3 separate regions of the Homo sapiens genome follow, and all the other regions are linked to region 1. Evidence: promoter capture Hi-C in 16 types of primary human blood cells and fetal thymus (Javierre and others, 2016). All regions are on one chromosome and are shown on one strand. The core of a region is centred on a gene start or on the middle of the fragment in contact, and the rest is flanking DNA. Distances in the headings are between cores, read along the strand shown.

The links. Contacts are between HindIII fragments. The CHiCAGO score rates a contact against its expected background, and 5 or more counts as called.
Region 2: a fragment that was not itself captured here is called in contact with the fragment with the promoter of PLEKHS1 in region 1 in 1 of 17 cell types (M2 macrophages); the score reaches 5.5 in M2 macrophages.
Region 3: a fragment that was not itself captured here is called in contact with the fragment with the promoter of PLEKHS1 in region 1 in 4 of 17 cell types (endothelial precursors, erythroblasts, megakaryocytes and 1 more); the score reaches 6.8 in endothelial precursors.

The regions. Positions count from the first base shown.
Region 1 is chr10:113,750,259-113,753,055 of GRCh38, forward strand. It overlaps PLEKHS1 (pleckstrin homology domain containing S1), which reads left to right and starts at 1,424. Exons shown (of 13, transcript NM_001395068.1): 1 at 1,424-1,503. The HindIII fragment of the contact is 1,743 bases long and covers 1-1,557 here.
Region 2 is chr10:114,140,854-114,143,650 of GRCh38, forward strand. The region is part of intron 6 of CCDC186 (coiled-coil domain containing 186); the gene reads right to left. Among named protein-coding and RNA genes, the nearest start is that of MIR2110, 32 kb to the right of the region's middle. The HindIII fragment of the contact is 1,655 bases long and covers 540-2,194 here.
Region 3 is chr10:114,111,752-114,114,548 of GRCh38, forward strand. No RefSeq gene overlaps it. Among named protein-coding and RNA genes, the nearest start is that of MIR2110, 61 kb to the right of the region's middle. The HindIII fragment of the contact is 1,530 bases long and covers 678-2,207 here.

The sequences.
Region 1 (2,797 bases), core at 174-2,673:
TTAATTGGCCCATGGTTCTGCAAGCTGTACAGGAAGCATAGTCCTGGCATCTCTCAGCTTCTGAGAAGACCTCAGGGGGCTTTCTTTTACGCATGGTGGAAGGTGAGGCGGGAGTAGCCATGTCACCTGGTGGGAGTGGGAGCAGTAGAGTTGGGGGAGATGCCACACACTTTTAAATAAAGACCTCAGTACAACTCACTATCTCAGACACAGAACCAAGCCATGAGGGATCCACCCCCAGGACCCAACACCTCCAGCCAGACTCCACCTCCATCACTGGGGATTACATCTCAACATGAGATTTGGAGGGGACATCCAAACTATATCAAAATTAAGAAATTGTTTTTCCTAAATCAAGCAAAACTGGTCCTGTGCAGGAAGCAAACAATATATCAATAATTTCTGTATGCCTGAAGTCCAGCTAGGTTTGCTAAATGAAGAAACCAATAACATCTACCCTCCATAGGATGCAAAAGAGAAAAACAAAGAAATACCCTCTGTTGAATGCTAACTGTGGATAAAGCACTGTGCTAGATGCTTTTTATATGTGAAATTTTACTTAACTTTAAAAAAAAATCCTGTGAAGTCAGTATTATCTGTTCCATTTTGCAGATGAGGAAACAGACTCAGAGAACTCCAGTTAACTTGCCAAGACCACACAATGGATCCATGGCAGAGCTGATTCCAGACCAGCTACCCTCGTGAGGATGAGGATTCAAATGATGTACTTTTACTTCTAAAGGCAGTAGAACAGGATAAAATTCATCATCACTTCTTCCTCTCCCCTAGAAATCTGTAATACACATGAAAATATACCTAAGACCCTTTGGTGGCTGGATACCACTCACCAGGTCTAAGAATGATGGTTTGCTCAATTGCTGTTGGTGGCTGTGCAGGGGAACATGCCTAGCGCCACCCTGTTGATGGTAACACTCTGTCATGGCTGAATGAGCAACTCTTCCTGGAAACCATTGGCATGTACAAGTGTTTAGAGAAGCCAGGCTTTTGTTTCCTCATCTGGTACAAAGGAACCCTTTCTACCCTTCCCAGGAAGACATTGGTTAAGATATGGCTGAGGGAGGCATAGGGATTTTTTTTCAATGGTAGTCACCACAGACGGTTGAGGGTAAATTGGCGTTGTTCTCAATAAGGGTTATTGTGACCATGGTCCAAAGTCTGGCAGGAATTTTTTTTTATTATTAATGTGTTTGCTTTCATTTTTGGTGCTAGGCAGCTGGGACACCAAGGAGAGTTCTGTGGCAAGCCACAAGTATGAAGGCCCAGAACTTCCCCTGAGGGCATAGCTTCCATTTCAGTTTGGGGCAAGAATAAAATCTGCTCAAGGATATTAGTTTGGGAACTTCCTGGTGGTTCAGATTTCAAGCAGAGTTTGTGCTTAATCCTCACCCAGGCACCAAGGCTCAGAGTCAGCAGGAGTGAGTTCAGGAATCCTCGGGACAAGGCACTTTCCTGAGCACTGGACCAGCGACCTCTTGGCTTCCAGTAAGTACTGCTTGGTGTATCTGGTTTGGACTTCCAAGGCTGGGATGATCTAGAAGCTTTTTTGCAATTGAACAATTGCAAAATTGGAAATGGAAAATTTTGCAGATATGCTGTATTTCTGTTATGGGCACTTTCTTCATAAGCTTCCTAGGCTATACTATAGTCAGAGGGAAATAGGACTGACCTCTTGGTATACTGTATTCACCAAATCCAAAATAATGTTATAATAAATGGGTCAGGCAGTGACTGTGGGGAGATTCTCCTGAATGAGATCAAACAGCTAAATCAGAAAGGCTTTCTTTTTTGTTTGGGGGCAATGACAAGAAAAACAAGCAGAACTATGAAAAGACTTAATTCTACTTTCTTAGATAGGAGGAAAAGCAAAGTAGTTAAGGCCAGCTCTCAAGCTAGAATTCTGGTTCTGCTTCTTTTTAATTACATGATCAAAGTAAAGTTGTTTAATCTCTCCGATAACCATTTCCTCGTCTGTAAATGGGCATTGTATCATTGTGAAAACAGTGCAAGCTTTAGAGTACGGTTATGAGGTTAGGATGAGATTTTATATGTATATGTGAAATTATATGTATACATATACATAAAATCTTTCATATACATATTGCTTAGAAGTGCCTGGAATGTATTAAGTACTCAAAAAATGCTACCCATTATTAAACAACCATAGAATCATAGAATATCTGAGCTGGAAAGGACCTAACAACTAGCATTTATTGAGCTTCTATTATGTACTGAGGAGTGCTCATCAACAGGGTATCTCAAGTGATACTCCCAGCAATCTGATGAGGGTAGTAATAACCTTCATGTTACAGATGAAGAAATGGAGGTGTAGAGAAGTATTATAAAGTATCCAAGATCACATTCCTCATAATTCATGGAGATGAAATTTAAACCCAGATGCCAGAGCTAACACTCTAAACCACCACACCCTACTGCCTTATCTGTCCTCTCATTTTACGGTGGGTGGGGAGATGAAGGAGGAATGGTTGCAGCACATGACTCTGGAGCCCTTTGCAGACACTGGAAGGACAGAGATGTCCTCCAAAGCACACTTTGACATCCACAGGGCACAGGGAGGGCAAATGTTATTTGGGAGTGTCCATGAGCATGAATGTGGTGCTGTGTGGAGTTCTGCCAGGGGACCTAGGTCCAAGTCATCTCAGTCTTCTCTCAAATGCAGCTTTTCATTTGTAAAATGAGCTATCTCAGAATGAAGCCATTCTGAACACAAAAAAATAATGTATGCAAATGCATTTTATAAACTTTAAAGGCTTTAGAA
Region 2 (2,797 bases), core at 117-2,616, 390 kb after region 1:
ATTGCCTCATTGTCTACTAATTCTATTATTTATGTCATTTCTGAATCTTTTTTTTTTTTAAGACACAGGACAGGATCTTGCTGTGTTGCCCAGGCTGGAGTGCAGTGGCATGATCATAGCTTCAACTCCTGGGCTCAAGTGATCCTCCCATCTCAGCCTCCCAAGTGGCTAGGACTACAGGCATACACCACCACACCTGGCTAATTTTTAAAGTTCTTTGTGTAGAGATGGGGACCTCGCTATGTTGCCCAGGCTGGTCTCAAACTCCTGACCTCAAGCAATCCTCCCACCTCAGCCTCCCCAAGTGCTAGAATTACAGGTGTGAGACACCGTGCCTGGATCTGTTCCTACTGATCTAGTGTTCCTTCCTTCTCATGATGGGCTCCATTTTCCTGCCTCTTTGCATGCCTGGTAATTTTTGACTGGATGCCAAACACAGTAAATTTATGCTTTTAGGTGCCAGAGTTCTTCGTAGTCATTTAAATATTTTGGGCCTTTGTTTTGGGACATAGTAAATTTACTTGAAACAAATTATTTGAAGCTTGCTTTTAAAGTTTTGTTAAGGCAGATTTATAACAGACTTAATCTAAGGCAAATTCATCCTCACAACTAAAGCAATAACCTTCTGGGGGCTGCTTGATGCAGCCCTGCCTGATGTGTGTTGAGAGGTCATTTCTCTTTGACTGATGGAAACATGAACAATTTCCTAGCCTTGTGGGAGCTCTAGGGATTGTTGCCCCTATTTCTTCCCCCTCCTCTGTAGTTTCCTCTCTTAACACACACACACACACGCACGCACACACATACACGCACGCACGCACACATGTACTGATCAGTAGTCAGCTGAAGACTTGAAGGGAACTCACTGCACATTGTTGTATTTTTCTCTTTTCTGGGACTCTGCCTTGGTTCCCCATATTTTGAACTCTATCTCCTCAATTCAGGTAGACTGCTGGGCTGTCCAGGTTCTTCTTGTTCTGCAGACTGGAACTCTCCAGGAATACCTCATTTGTTTCCCTTCACTCAGAGATCACTGTCCTATGCTGCCTGTTGTCTCAAGTCTGAAAGCCTTCATTTCATATATTTTGTCTTTTGTTTTTTAAGGTAGAAGGGTAAATTTGGACCTTGTTATTCCATAATACAATATAGTCAATAGAATACAGTTATAGAACACTACAGTTATAGAACATAGAATATAGTTTTATTAAGTGAGATAAAATGGCAAAGCAAATAAGAAGCCCATTCTGGCTTCTAATGACTGGGCCTTCTGAGTAAACAAACCATTTAAGAATGACACTATCACTGACAACACGACAGCCTCGGGAGAAGAGCTTATTAAGCAACAGTCTTACCTCGGGTGACCTAGTGTACAGAACATATCATAAAATACACCAAGCCCTTGTCACACATTAGGCCTGTACTATATTACCATCTACAACCTCCTGCTGGTCTAGCTTCTGGGTCCAAGAATATTCTTCTAGCTTTCTCTGAAGCAGTTATGTCTGGCAAGCACCCAGCATAGTCAAACCATGGCAGCCAAAGAACCACAGCCACATCTATTGCTAGCCGTATATACGTTCAGTGAGATTATCTCATCCTGATATCAGGTAGGTGAATAAGTAGCAACCAGGTAGGCAAACAAGTAGATGAGGTACACTGGGGGAAATTCATCTTTATTTACTGTACTCCAAATAAAAGGCTTCTGTTTTTACAGGCTAGGTGTTTAAAACACATTTTCAGTTAAATCCCAAAGGAGTTTAGGGAAGGAAACAAATTGTTTCTCTTGGGTAGTCTGATGATCTGGGTAGCCAGCCCACCTACTCTTAAGTTCTGGTAATATGCACTGGGGGTCTGACCAGAAGCTACTGATCACAATGGATCCAGTAAGCTACAGGACTGCAGTATTATTAGTACCTAAGACTTGGTGGGCAGGAACCAGAAACCAGAAAGGGTGCCTCAAGAAAAATTTACTAAGTGTCTCGTGTCTCTTGCCCACATCTCAAGAGGTAGACTATAATAACCACATGATTATTAAATCTTGTATCCTTTGATCCAGGGACTCCTTCCAACATCCAATAGGTAAATACATAAAACAAGTAACCGGGAGCCCATCTTGGACACTCTTTGAAAGTAACGACTGTGTCTCCTAAGGCTTTTATAGCCTCCAAGTTATCTAATACAGTGTTATGCACAAAGCTTGCTGGTTAATAAATGCCTTTAGTTAAAAAGAACTAGTGAATTTCTACATACCAAGTCAATATGCTTGTTCATTTTCTAGCAATCTGCACCATGTAACCTTACAGAAGTCAGCCTTAAATCACCTCTCTAACCTATTTACAGACTACCTGGTTTCATCTGAGCTCAAAGCTGCCATTAAGATCTCTTACACAGATCTGTAACAGTTCTTTTGTTCCTAAGTGCTAGTATTCTAACAGGTTTCAGGAGCCTGTCTCTTAGCACTCTGGATGAAGATGAGGAAAGTACCACAGATATCAGACATGACCAAGTATGATGTTCTGATCTTGAAGCAACTCAGGTAGTTGAGAATCATTACTGTTTTTATGAATTTGGAATTTCAATTCCTCATTCTGTAACTCAAAGTAAAGAGAAAATTTAGATGGCTTAGCCGTGTTGAGCTCCAGAGACTGTCATCCTCCTCCTTTCTGAAAATTCTTTCTCTGCCTTGGCAGTTCCCTCACACATGTGCTGATTAGTAGGTCAGCTTCAGACTTGAGGGAAACCCACTATTCTCTAATCTACCTTTGACCACTGTCAACAGAGACTATTCCTCCTACAG
Region 3 (2,797 bases), core at 193-2,692, 360 kb after region 1:
GACTCACTGCAACCTCCGCCTCCCAGGTACAAGTGATTCGCCTGCTTCAGCCTCCCCAGTAGCTGGGATTACAGGTGGCTCACCACCACACCCAGCTAATTTTTAATATTTTTAATAGAGATGGGGTTTCACCATGTTGGCCAGGCTGGGCTCGAATACCTGACCTCAAGTGATCTGCCCACCTTGGCCTCCCAAAAGTGCTGGGATTACAGGCGTGAGCTACAACACCCGGCCAATTTTATTTTTTTGAGGAGTCTCGATCTGTTGCCCAGGGTGGAGTGCAGTGGTGTAATCTCTACTCACTGCAACCTCCGTCTCCCAGGTTTAAGCGATTCTCGTGCTTCAGCCTTCCAAGTAGCTGGGATTACAGGCTCCCGCCACGATACCCAGCAAATTTTTATATTTTCAGTAGAGACAGGGTTTCACTATGTTGGCCAAGCTAATCTTGAACTCCTGACCTCAGGTGATCCACCTGCCTTGGCCTCCCAAAATGCTGAGATTACAGGCGTGACCCACCGCTCCTGGCCTAGCACATGTTTCTTGCTTAGCATAATGGCTGAGTCCAAGTGGCAGCAATGAGTCCATCAAAACACACATCATTTGAGTTAGGAGCAGTGCTTAAGTTATATGTGTTGCTTTGGAAGCACCACAGAACCTCAGCAAAGTATTGAGGGGAAAGCTTTATTACATTTAAGAGAATGAGAGCGAAGCATGTGGCGGGGTGACAGGTATGGAGACGCCGCTGCTTGTCTGGCTGCTCATCTTCATCAGCACCATCTCTGTGTCCCACACAAAGGGTGGCTGGAAATGAAACATCTAGACCTCCCTCCAAGGGAGGTTCGAGATGCGATTCATGCGAACACCTCCCTTTTGTTGGAATTAGTAAACATCCCAATCCTTACGGGGCTTTTTCTCTTTTCTTCCCCATTCCTACAAAAAGGTAACTGCCCCCCCCCGACACACACACACACACACACACACACACACACACACACACACACACACAATGTATATGATAGAACCAGGCCCTCAGGACAGAAGCTGTGTGAGAATGTCAGACAATTATGAATTTAAAAGCTCCAGCCATCTGAACACTTCCCCTGCTGACTTTGTGTGGTTGTGCACAAGAGGAAGGGGCTGGGTTGAGAATGAGTAGAACACGCACACAGCATTCTTCCATTCTTCCATTGTACTTATTCTCCAAATGCAGTGGCTACACCTACCAATCCACTTGTAGAAATGGGATTAGGCTCCAAGTGTTTCTCGGTAGCTGTTGAAAAGTCAAACCAAGGTCTGAAACTGGAATTGGATTATAGATCTCAGTTGATGCTGCTCAAAAGAGCGTGGCTCTCTTTCAGCAACACACATCACCTTCTCCCACCTCTTCCCAAACTCAGTCTGTTCCAAAGAAATCAGAAAATTGAACAATAGGATCTTTCTAGACAATAAATATATACATACACATACTATCTCCACACTCTCCCCCTTTTACCTTGCTAGAGGGTCAGGCATATAGCCCTCTAAAAATCAGGATATGATTCTTAGAATAATAATTTTTAAAGTTAACTATAGCAAAAGTAGTACATACTCGCTGAAAAACTTCCAGTAACAGAAAAATATAAATTCAAATAGAAAGTCCACCACTCTATAATGTGATTTTCAGGAGAAACCACTGTGGAGTCTGGTATGTATCCATTCAGAACTTTTTCTTTGCATATACACATGAATGCATATTTAAAGGTATTTTTTCCCTTTGTTGCAAAGTTTATGCTATTAAAGCAACAATTTTTACAGTACACATATATATGCATCCTTCAACTTTTTTTAATAATTATTTTTTTAGAAACAGAAATTAGACCTCTATTTTTGAAGATTTAGCTTAATAATATGTCCATGTCGCAGAGCTTTGCAGTTTTCAAAGTTCTTTCCCATGCATTATCCTGTTCACTCCACAGAATGGCTCTGCAAGGTGAGCTTTCTCATCCCCTTTTACAGATGAGAAAACTGAAGCTCAATGAGGTGGGTGATTTGTAAAAGGTTTCACAAAAAGTGGCAAGGTAGGGTCTTCCAAGTCCAAGTCCAGGGACCCTTACAGTCCTCTGTTGCCTCCTCTAGTTGGCTCTGAAGGAGATGGGCAGGAAAGGGAGTCTCTGTTACAGTCATCCACAAGGCAGTGCACGGGAAGTTATGTGTACAGGTAATTTAAAAGCTTAAGGAACACCTGGCTGGCACGATTGCTCACGTCTGTAATCCCAGCACTTTGGGAGGCCGAGGCAGGTGGATAGCTTGAGCCCAGGAGTTCGAGACCAGCCTGGGCAACATAGAGAAACTCTGTCTCTACGAAAAATACAAAAAAATTAGCTGGGCGTAGTGACACATGCCTATAATCCCAGCTACTGGGAGGCTGAGAGAGGAGAATCACCTGAGCCTGGTAAGTTGAACCTGCAGTGAGCCCTGACTATGCCACTGTTCTCCAGCCTGGGTAACAGAGTGAGACCCTGTATCAAAAAAAAAAAAAAAAAAAAAAAAAAGCTTAAGGAACACCTATTCACTGTCCAGACTGTCAAGAAAATTATGATGTGATTTATTACCTATGATTCCCCCTCCAAACACCTTTACAGTTTAAGAGGAAACAAAATGATTGTTTTTATTTCCCTTCTTTGACTGTGGTTAGAGGAAAAGCTAAGTCAAAAGACAATCAAAAGGTGAAAATAGAGGCACCAAGTCTCCAACAAAGAGTTTACTAGATCACACGCTCTTATGCATGGGCATCTTCTTTAAACTAATTATTGGTACT